Regions from separate parts of the Homo sapiens genome. Here region 1 is linked to region 2. The links are contacts of gene promoters, found by promoter capture Hi-C in human tissues and cell types (Jung and others, 2019). All regions are on one chromosome and are shown on one strand. Each heading gives the region's core, a stretch centred on a gene start or on the middle of the fragment in contact. The rest is flanking DNA. Distances are from core to core; before and after follow the strand shown.

Region 1 (5,530 bases), core at 2,112-4,611, 150 kb after region 2:
TGGCCTCCATGATGCTGGGATATGCTGCAGAGAAAGACTGCAGTGATTGCTAACTTTGTTCATAACTCCCCAGCAGGAGAAAAAGACCAAATATTTCTTTAAAAAGTAAAATATTTATGTATATGTGTGTGTATATCTATATATATTTTAAATATTGTAAAGTGGGATCTTTCAGTTTAGAGAAATGAGACTTTTCATTATTTGTAGAAGGAAGAAATTTTTTGTTTTTAAGTCAAAATGCCCTTTGATTGAAAGGAAATGTTCAGGATAAGAGCGGTCCCTCCTGTTGGCCATCTTGTTGTCCCCACTGCCCCAGCTCTTGGCATGGGCACTCTCCCTCTGGGTGGTACCTGAACACCGCCTTGTTGGCGTGCCTGGCTGTCTCTCCTAGGTTGGGAGGGAGCTTTAGCCTTCTCCATTTTCCCTGAGGACATGTTTACTTATTGCTCCACCATTATCAGTCAGTTGATAAATGAGAGTCTGAAGGAAATTTCCATGTGACTTTTTCAAATCTGCCGAACAGAAAAGTCCTGGATGGATTGTAGAGTTTAATGGAAGAACTAACCTTTTTATGCATTTTGTGTGTGTGTGTGTGTGTGTGTGTGTGTGCGCGTGTGTGTGTGTGTGTATTTTTTTCTTTTTTGAGATGGAGTCTTGCTCTGTTGCCCAGGCTGGACTGCAGTGGCGTAGTCATGGCTCACTGCAACGTCCGCCTCCTGGGTTCAAGCGAGTTTCCAGCCTCAGCCTCCTGAGTAGCTGGGACTACAGGCGTAAGCCACCACACCCAGCTAATTTTTGTATTTTTACTAGAGACAGGGTATCACTATGTTGGCCAGGTTGGTCTTGAACTCCTGACCTCAGATGATCCGCCTGCCTCTGTCTCCCAAAGTGTTGGGATTACAGGCGTGAGCCACCACGCCTGGCCAATATTTTTTATGTGGTAGAATGAAAACAAACTTGTGCCCATATATTCAGAAATATAAGATTATGACTTCTGGAGAATGCAAGATTTTTTTCTCCTATTTAAAAAAATGTTTCTTATATTTTTTCATGAATCAATAGCACTCCACCAACCCACAGATTTAGATGTTTAGGAATAATTTCAGCTGGGTACAGTGGCTCATGCCTGTAATCCCAACACTTTGGGAGGCCGAGGCAGGCGGATCACGAGGTCAGGAGTTTGAGTCCATCCTGGACAATATGATGAAACCCCGTCTCTATTAAAAATACAAAAATTAGCTGGGTTTGGTGGCACGTGCCTATAGTCCCAGCTACTCGGGAGGCTGAGGCAGGAGAATCACTTGAACCCGGGAGGCAGAGGTCGCAGTGAGCCGAGATCGAGCCACTGCACTCCAGCCTGGGCAACAGAGCAAGACTCCATCTCATAAATAAATAAAATAATTAATTAATTCATGGCCTGGCACCGTGGCTCACACATGTATTCCCAGCACTTTGGGAGGCCAAGCCGGGTGGATCACCTGAGGTCAGGAGTTTGAGACCATCCTGGCCAACATGGCAAAACCCCGTCTCTACTAAAAATACAAAAATCAGCCAGGCATGGTGGTGCATGCCTGTAATCCCAGCTATTCAGGAGGCTGAGACAGTAGAATTGCTTGAACCCAGGAGACAGAGGCTGCAGTGAGCCGAGATCCTGCCACTGCACTCCAGCCTGGGCGACAGAGCGAGACTCCGTCTCAAAAAAAAAAAAAAAACAAAACAAAACAAATGAAGTTTACCCATGTTATACCTAGAAACATTCAATGAAGTGTAATTTAAATTTTTTTTTAAAATATAAAATAGCATCTCCTCAGTAATGAACATTTGAAGAAATCTGAAAGGTGTGAGGGGGTAAAAGAAACTGCCATAGCCTTACCACCTAGACATGGCCTCATTTAAGTTCAGCTCTTTACTCACACAATCTCAGCATGCCTGTCCTCCGGGAGAGTGAAAAGCATGGGTTCCTAATAGCCGCTGTTGGCCCCTTCTGCACACTTTGCCGCCAGAGCTTAAAGGTATAAACTTCATGACTTCTTGATGCTCCAGCTTATATATATTCTTGACATTTTACACATTTTTTTTTTAACAAATCAGATTGATTTCCTAAATTCAGTAATAGTGGACCTTCAAAGGAAGAATCAAGACCTCAAGATGAAGGTGGAGATGATGTCAGAAGCAGCCCTGAATGGGAACGGGGATGACCTAAACAATTATGACAGGTATTTCATATGAAGACATACTGATTGCTATAATCCCAGCACTTTGGGAGGCCGAGGCGGGCGGACCACTTGAGGGTCAGGAGTTCGAGACCAGCCTGGCCAACACGATGAAACCTCGTCTCTACTAAAAATACAAAAGTTAGCCAGGCGTAGTGTTGCATGCCTGTAATCCCAGCTACTTGGGAGGCTGAGGCAGGAGAACTACTTGAGCCTTGGAGCTGGAGGTTGCAATGAGCCGAGATTGCGCCACTGTACTCCAACCTGGGTGACAGAGCAAGACCCTGTCTCAAAAAAAACCATACTGATTGGAACCTTAGTTTCATCAAAATAAATATGTTTTTAAAGTGAGCTTCTCTAGGGGATTGTAAAAAGACGCAACAAAAAAAAACAAATGTTTTGTGGTTCCTTTGCCATAAATAGATTTCCATAAATCTGGCAAGTGAGTGAGAGGAGACTACAAATGCTTTGACATGAAGATTTTAAATGTGAGGCTGGCGTGGTGGCCACGACTGTAATCCCAGCACTTTGGGAGGCCGAGGTGGGCAGATCACCTGGGGTCAGGAGTTCAAGACCAACTTGGCTAACTTGGCAAAACCCCATCTCTACTGAAAATACAAAAAAGTAACTGTGTGGGGTGGCACGCACCTGTAATTCCAGCTACTTGGGAGGCTGAGGCAGGAGAATTGCTTTCACCTAGGAGGTGGAGATTGCAGTAAGCCAAGATCATGCCACTGCACTCCAGCCTGGGTGAGAGTCTGAGACTCCATCTCAAAAATAAAAAAAATACTTTAAATGTGGGATAATGCACTACTTATACTGGAAGCTCACAGACTTGGCCATAATTAGTTCTTGCTTAATTTTTAAATTTTTTGCAAGTGTTCTTGTCTCTTCAGTTTCTTCTGATAAATTTTCTGATTTCACACATTAACATTTGTAGTGATGATCAGGAGAAACAGTCCAAGAAGAAACCTCGCCTCTTCTGTGACATTTGTGACTGCTTTGATCTCCACGACACAGAGGATTGTCCTACCCAGGCACAGATGTCAGAGGACCCTCCCCATTCCACACACCATGGCAGTCGGGGTGAGGAACGCCCATACTGTGAAATCTGTGAGATGTTTGGACACTGGGCCACCAACTGCAATGACGACGAAACCTTCTGATGAAGCCTCCAGTGGAGAACTGGGCTTGCTCAGACGCACTCGCATTGACACAACGTAACACCAGCATTGTGTGTGCAGACTTCAGGAGAACTCATGTTATTTTTTAACCCCGTCAACAAATCTAGGAAAATATTTTGATCTTCAACAAATTGCCCTTTAGTCTCCCCGTATGAGTTAGAATAATAAATATTTAGTAGGTGAGTTTTCACCTCGAATTTTGTTTTCTTGATTTTTACGTTTGAAGACATTGCACCAGATGCCATTACATTTATTGGCCCCCCGACCTTGTAGAAAAACCCCTACCCTCACAATACCTTATTTAAGTAACTTTAAATTATGCCGTTACTTTTCATATTTGCACTAAGATATTTCCAGGCTGCATTTGTATATTTAGATTTTTTGGTTAAGCTTTGACACTGGAATGAGTTGAAAAAATGTGCCATTTTGCATTTTCATCTACTCATTTAAAGTATTTTATTCTTATTCAAAGAAATATCTGAGCTCTTTGCACTACCTGTTATCAGTAGTGCCTTTACTTCAGGCTTGATAATACTTAGGTGTGATTATAAAATCATGAAGCAGGTAAAGGGAGGGGCAAGCCCCCAAACTGCTGTGGGGACATTTTATAATCTATATGCTGCACCCACTTAATCTACTGTGGTGTTTTGTTTATTAGTTTTGCATAATTTCAGCTTCTATATATTGTATGTATATATTTTTTAAAAATCTATATTTTGGGAAAAAAACATACACAATGTGTCTTTCTTTTTGGACATTTACCTTTTTGAAAAAGAAAACACTTAAAATGATCATTAGGACATAACAGACTAGGCCAGACATAGCATCTTGTGGCTTTGCAACCATTTTCATTTGTTTGTTTTCCTTTTATTTCTTCACCAGATTTAAATAACTGGAGGAATTTTCTCCAATTTTTTTTTCCTTCTCTGGCAGGTATCCCCAGCAGTCAATTAACAATAAGCCAGTATAAAACACCTAAATAACCAATCTACAATCTCCCTTCACAAGTTTTTTTACTGTTTTTAGATGAATGTACGATGAGAAATTCAACGTTAATAATTCTGGATTTTCTTATCACAAAAAAGAAAATGAAGGACCTCAAAGCACCTGAACAGTTTATCGACCAGTTTGAATCTATTTATCTTCATTTGAATGTCTTCTAGAATATGTAAAAAGTCATAAAATGTATCTTCCATGCTACATGTACAATAAGAACTTCTATAATTGTATATATGCCTTTGATGTATTTTCCCCTCAAGATTATCAACTGTGTGTTCGACAGTGAATATTCAATCTGGTACCAGTTGAAATTTTTGGTTATAAATGTAATACGAATTGTTTCACAAACAGAAAACATGTAAAGCAGTATTAAAATTTGGCCAAACAAGTGTTCTGTATCTACTTTAATAAATGGTTATTCTTTTTTGTTTTGTGGGTTTTGTTTTGTTTGAGACAGGGTCTCACTCTGTTGCCCAGGCTGGAATACAGTGGCACAATCATGGATTGCTGCAGCCTCCAACTCCTGAGCTCAAGCAATCCTCTCACCTCAGCCTCCAAAGCAGCTAGGACTACAGGCAAGTGCCACCACACCTGGCCAATTTTTTTTTTTTTTTTTTTTTTTTTGAGACGGAGTCTCACTCTGTCGCCCAGGCTGGGTGCAGTGGTGTGATCTCGGCTCACTGCAAGCTCCACCTCCTGGGTTCACGCCATTCTCCTGCCTCAGCCTCCCGAGTAGCTGAGACTATAGGCATCCGCCACCATGCCCAGCTAGTTTTTTGTATTTTTAGTAGAGACAGGGTTTCACCGTGTTAGCCAGGATGGCCTCGATCTCCTGACCTCGTGATCCGCCTGCCTCGGCCACCCAAAGTGCTGGGATTACAACACCTGGCTAATTTTTAAATTTTTTGTACAGAGTGAGTCTCCCTATGTTGCCCGGGCTGGTTTTGAACTCCTGGGTTCAAGTGATCCTCCCACTTCAGCCTCCTAAAGTGTTGGGAGTGCTCACCCAGCCAATAAATGGTTATTCTTTTTTGCTAATGGTAGTAAATTGATATTCTCAGGTTTGTCATAATGGTTTTACTTCAAATGAGCAAACCCTATACATTCATATAGCAATTTCTACTGCAGTCTTGT
Region 2 (5,066 bases), core at 2,285-4,784:
CCTGTAATCCCAGCACTTTGGGAGGCTGAGGGGGACAGGTTGCCTGAGCCCAGGAGTTTGAGACCAGCCTGGGCAACATGGCAAAACTCCATCTCTACTAAAAATACAAACAATTAGCTGGGCATGGCTGTGCATGCCTGTAGTCCCAGCTACTTAGGAGGCTGAGGTGGGAGGATCATCTGATCCCGGGAAGTAGAGGCTGCAGGGAGTCATGATTGCAGCACTGCGCTCCAGCCTGGGTGACAGGAATGAGACCTCATCTCAAGAAAACAAAAACAAAAATACATAAAAATATACTTGTGTTATTTATCAACTGTAGGCATTATCTATTGACTTTCTGTTATGACTAAGGCACGACTACCTCTCCTCTCCACACAATCCTGCCACTATTTTTAATTATTCCTATTGGTTACGTTAATGATATCATTAAACCTTAATTTTTTGGGGAAAAAAAAACAGAAAACAAAACCCTAGGTATTTACCTACCTCCCCGCTTTGTAAAATGAAGACTTGAGAGCTCTTATTTTGCATTCTACTTCTGCAACATCCCTTCCACCTCCCAATGTCTCATCAATTGAGCTGTTCTCATATTTACAGAAGACATGCATTTAAGAAAGCACTGTGGCAGTCGGGCGCGGTGGCTCATGCCTGTAATCCTAGCACTTTGGGAGGCCGAGGTGGGCGGATCACGAGGTCAGGAGATTGAGACCATCCTGGATAACACAGAGAAACCCCCTCTCTACCCAAAATACAAAAAATTAGCTGGGTATGGTGGTACGTGCCTGTAGTCCCAGCTACTTGGAAGGCTGAGGCAGGAGAATAGCTTGGCCCTGCAAGGCGGAGGTTGAAGTGAGCCGAGATGGTGCCACTGCACTCCAGACTGGGCGACAGAGCGAGACTCAGTCTTAAAAAAAAAAAAAAAAAAAAAGCACAGTGGCTAGATCTAAAAACAGAATGTAAATATTGAAGGAGGAACTTTGAGTCCTAACAGTGGCCACCTGGGGTCTGAGCCCTGTCAATGCCCTGGTAGTAGGGCTGAGACCAGGCCTTGCTCACACAATTGAAGGAGGCAGTGAAGGTAAACAATATTGCGATATGCTAATTTTTTTTTTTTTTTTTTTTGGAGATAGAGTCTCCCTCTGTCGCCCAGGCTGCAGTGCGGTGGTGCTATCTTGGCTTATTGCAACCTCCGCCTCCTGGGTTCAAGCAATTCTTCTGCCTCAGCCTCTCTAGTAGCTGGGATTACAGGCATGCGCCACCATGCCCGGCTAATTTTTGTATTTTTAGTAGATACGGGGTTTCACTATATTGGCCAGGCTGGTCTCGAGCTCCTGACCTCGTGATCAGCCCGCTGTGCCCGGCTGATATATTTTTTAAAAAATAAAAATTAATGGCCGGGCACGGTGGCTCACGTCTGTAATCCCAGCACTTTGGGAGCCCAAAGCAGGCGGATCACGAGGTCAGGAGATCGAGACCATCCTGGCTAACACGGTGAAACCCTGTCTGTACTAAAAAAATACAAAAAATTAGCCGGGCGTGGTGGCGGGCACCTGTAGTCCCAGCTACTCGGGAGGCTGAGGCAGGAGAATGGCGTGAACCCGGGAGGCAGAGCTTGCGGTGAGCCGAGATCGCACCACTGCACTCCAGCCTGGGCGACAGAGTGAGACTCCATCTCAAAAAAAAAAAAAAAAAAAAAAATTAACGCCAAGACTCCATGATGAACAAAATGATATAATTATAAATAAATAAGCAAATGATGAACATGACAATGACATAGAATAACCCATGAGAACAAGCAAATATACACACACACACACACACACATATATATACATATATATATACATGTGTATATATATATATATTTTTTGAGACAGAGTCTCCCTCCGGCACCCAGGCTGGAGTGTAGTGGCTTGAACTCTGGTCACAGCAACCTCCGCCTCCCGGGTTCAAACAATTCTCGTGTCTCAGCCTCCCGAGTAGCTGGGACTACAGGCATGCACCACCATGCCCAGTTAATTTTTGTATTTTTTGTTAGAGACGGGGTTTCACCATGTTGGCCAAGCTGGTCTTGAACTCCTGTCTGCAGGTGATCCACCCACCTGGGTCTCTCAAAGTGCTAGAATTACAGGCGTGAGCCACCACACCCAGCCCCAAAACAATATTTTTAATAAAGACAGGCTCAGCCTACTGAGTAGAGAAGAAAAGACAAGCCCATAAGTGTTCCTAGCTGAACTCCCCCATTAGAAGTGGTCTGTGCCTCATCCTATGACATCTATGATTCCACAGCTTGCTGATTACAGCTGAAGACTGTTTAGATTAGGGGGTGAGGCGCGCCTTTCAGATTAGGAATATGGATATGGGATTTCAGGAGTACCACCACCACCTGACCTTGCAGCCTGTAAATTAGGGCGATGTTGAATTAGGTAACAGCATTTCGAGGGATTTCAGACATGAATGGAGAGGAGGGGCCAGGAGACAAATTTACATAGTTCAGAACTTCGTGCATTACCAGAGCAGTTCCCTCTTCCTGCTGGTCCAGGCAGCACGGTGCTTTGAATAAAGGTCAGCTAGAGGGGTCACCCGCCGATTATTCTCTTCTACTGGCAAGGAGGAGGAAGCCCCTGCCCCCTTATCCACCACAAAATCCTGGGCTTCCCCGACAGCTGCAAATTCCTCCCTGGAGATGTAAGGCTTCTGGGGTTGCCATGGTCCATGGGAGTGAAATGCTGGCCGCCCTCTGCTACCCCAGCCCCGAGCAGGCTGTTGCAGCCTTCCCTCCTGTCCCTTTCAAAAGCTTTTAAAGGAAATCCCAGGGGGGAAGGAGGATGGGACACTAACCAGGGCTTCCGTCCAAGCAGCCAGGGCGAATAAAAGGGGCTTTTCTCAAACGAACGGAGCAAACCCTGGGATCGTTTCAAAGGATTTTTAACCCGCGGTCGTTCCCGGAGGGAAGTGGGGAGCAGATACAGTTCTTCCCAAGCTTAACCTGCTCTACAGTTCCTTTCAGCATTTTCTCCAGGGACGCCTCATCCAGGGTCTTTCCCTGGAGGGAGGCGAGGGCAGAGATGATCCTTCCCAATCCCCAACTTAACCTGCTTCGGAAGCGCCTTGCAGCCTGTTTCAAAGGATTTCTCACCCTTGTCTGGCGGGAAGGGGAGGGCAAACAAATGAATCAGCCCCAAAGAGCGGGCTGAGGTCGAGGCTGAATGGGGCTCTTGGGTGTGACTTGCAAATTCTGGGAACACTTTGCAGAAATGACGAGAAGCCCCTCGGAGCAGGCCTGTGGGTTTTCCCTCGCACCTTGCTCCCCAAGCCGGGGCTCGGGAGGGTTCGAGGGCGGAGCGGCGGGCGCGCCGGGGCCAGGGTCCTCCCGGGGCCGCGGTGGGCGCAGACAAAGAGGCGGCGGGGCGGCGCGGGGCCGGGCGCGGGCCGCAGGGCCGGTGCGGACTCGAGGGGCCGGGCCGGCCGGGCCGGCCGGGCGGGCGCGGCGGCGGAGCGCTGGGAGGAGCCGCGCGGCGTCTTCTCCTGGCAGCGCGCGCCCGCCCGGCCCCGCGGCGGCGGCGGCGCGTCACGCTCTCCCCCGCCCCGAGCCGACGAGCCGGGAGGCGGGAGGCGGCGGCCGCGGCGGCTGCTGCTGCTGCAGTGGGACAGGTGGCGGCGACCGGCGGCGTCCGAGGAGGTGAGCAGGGGGCGGCGCGGGCCCTCTCCCTTTCCCGGCACCCCCTGCTCCCCTGCCGGCTTCCCGGCCTGCGGGGCCCGCCCAGGGTCGGGTCGGGGGTCGAAGCCCGGCGTCCGGGAGCGGGGCCGAGCCTCGCGCGCCGGAGCCGTCCGGGAGGGGACCGCGGGAGTCTCGGGTGGCCGGCGCCGGAGGCCGGGGGTCCCTGGGGGGCTCCTCCGGAGCTGGAAAAGTGGCGGCCCTGTCAGCGCCGAGCCGGGCCTTCGCTTCCTCCGCCCGCCTCAAGATGGAGCTTGGACTCCTTGCCCCTGCGCCGCCCCAGGCGCCGCTCTCTCCCTGGCGCCCCGCTCCCTCTCCTGGGCCCCGGGGCGGATGTGGGATCGGCCGGACCCCGGGAGGCCGAAGCCGGGCGGGACCTGTTGCCCCGGGCGCCGCGCCTGTCACCTGAGCATTCCTCAGGCCCCGGGTGCCCGGCGCCCGCGATCCGGCATGGAGGGCACCCTGGCCCGGCCTCCCCCGCTGCCCCGGCTTTTGTTTTCCTCTCAAGTGGGGCTGTGATTCTCGGAGACCGGGGAAGGCTGGAGGTGGCCAGATCGCTCTCGGGTTTCCGAAATCACACCGCTGCCCGGTAATCCGAACCTTCTACCGCGGCAGGGGATTGGCGCGGAAGGCAGATGACACTTGTTCAGAGGTTATTTTACAAGCAGAACCTAGCGATTGCCCGAATTGGAAGGTCCTGCCTTTCAAAAATCGGGTTTTGATTCGGGGGTGAATCCTGAATCCGGCTGTTTCTCCACTTCATGTGGCTTTTCCATCTGGCAGGAGCCGAGCGCCACCCCCTCCTCCCTGCACAGCCCCACCTCTTTGGTATGAAGAAATTACACGTTGTCCGTCATCGGTTTAGATACCTGTTTTTAGCAAAACTTGGGCGCCAGTGAACTGTTTTTTAAAACAAAGGGTGGAGAAGATTCTGTAATTGTGTGTGTGTGATTCAGCAGCCTGGCCTTCTTCCTCTTTTAGGACAGTGGCCCCTAGCAGCTCTATAAGTATTAAGTGCTGTGGCCACTGCTGTCATTAGGGTTATGATTCTGGCTGTTCTTATTATTTGATTTGTGTCACTACTGTTAGCGATGGTATCCACGAATCAGGAGAGTATCCCAGAGTCAGGAATGTGTTTGTTTGACTTTTAGATTTAATGATAACCTTTAGCAAGAATCCCCAGGCATGTCGCTTCTCAGACTTGGGGCCTTTTTTTCTCTGTAAATTATAACAATGAACATTTATTGAAGGCATCTTGTGGCCAGGCTCTGGGCTAGCTTTTTATGTGTTTTATTTCATTTAATCAACCCTAACCCAGTGAGCGTGCTGTCGTCATGTGCATTCGGCA

Evidence for each region. Contacts are between HindIII fragments. The study calls those that stand out against the background at their distance.
Region 1: a contact is called between a fragment that was not itself captured here and the fragment with the promoter of CLIP1 in region 2, in 1 of the 25 tissues and cell types used here (liver).

What each region holds. Positions count from the first base shown.
Region 1 is chr12:122,270,724-122,276,253 of GRCh38, reverse strand. It overlaps CLIP1 (CAP-Gly domain containing linker protein 1), which reads left to right. Exons shown (of 26, transcript NM_001247997.2): 25 at 2,092-2,216; 26 at 3,154-4,785. The coding sequence ends at 3,379. Among named protein-coding and RNA genes, the nearest start is that of VPS33A, 7.0 kb to the right of the region's middle. The HindIII fragment of the contact is 5,788 bases long and covers 468-5,530 here.
Region 2 is chr12:122,421,137-122,426,202 of GRCh38, reverse strand. It overlaps CLIP1 (CAP-Gly domain containing linker protein 1), which reads left to right and starts at 3,534. Exons shown (of 26, transcript NM_001247997.2): 1 at 3,534-3,682. RefSeq lists an enhancer at 2,259-2,358 and silencers at 3,468-3,817, 3,838-4,237. The HindIII fragment of the contact is 23,258 bases long and covers 1-5,066 here.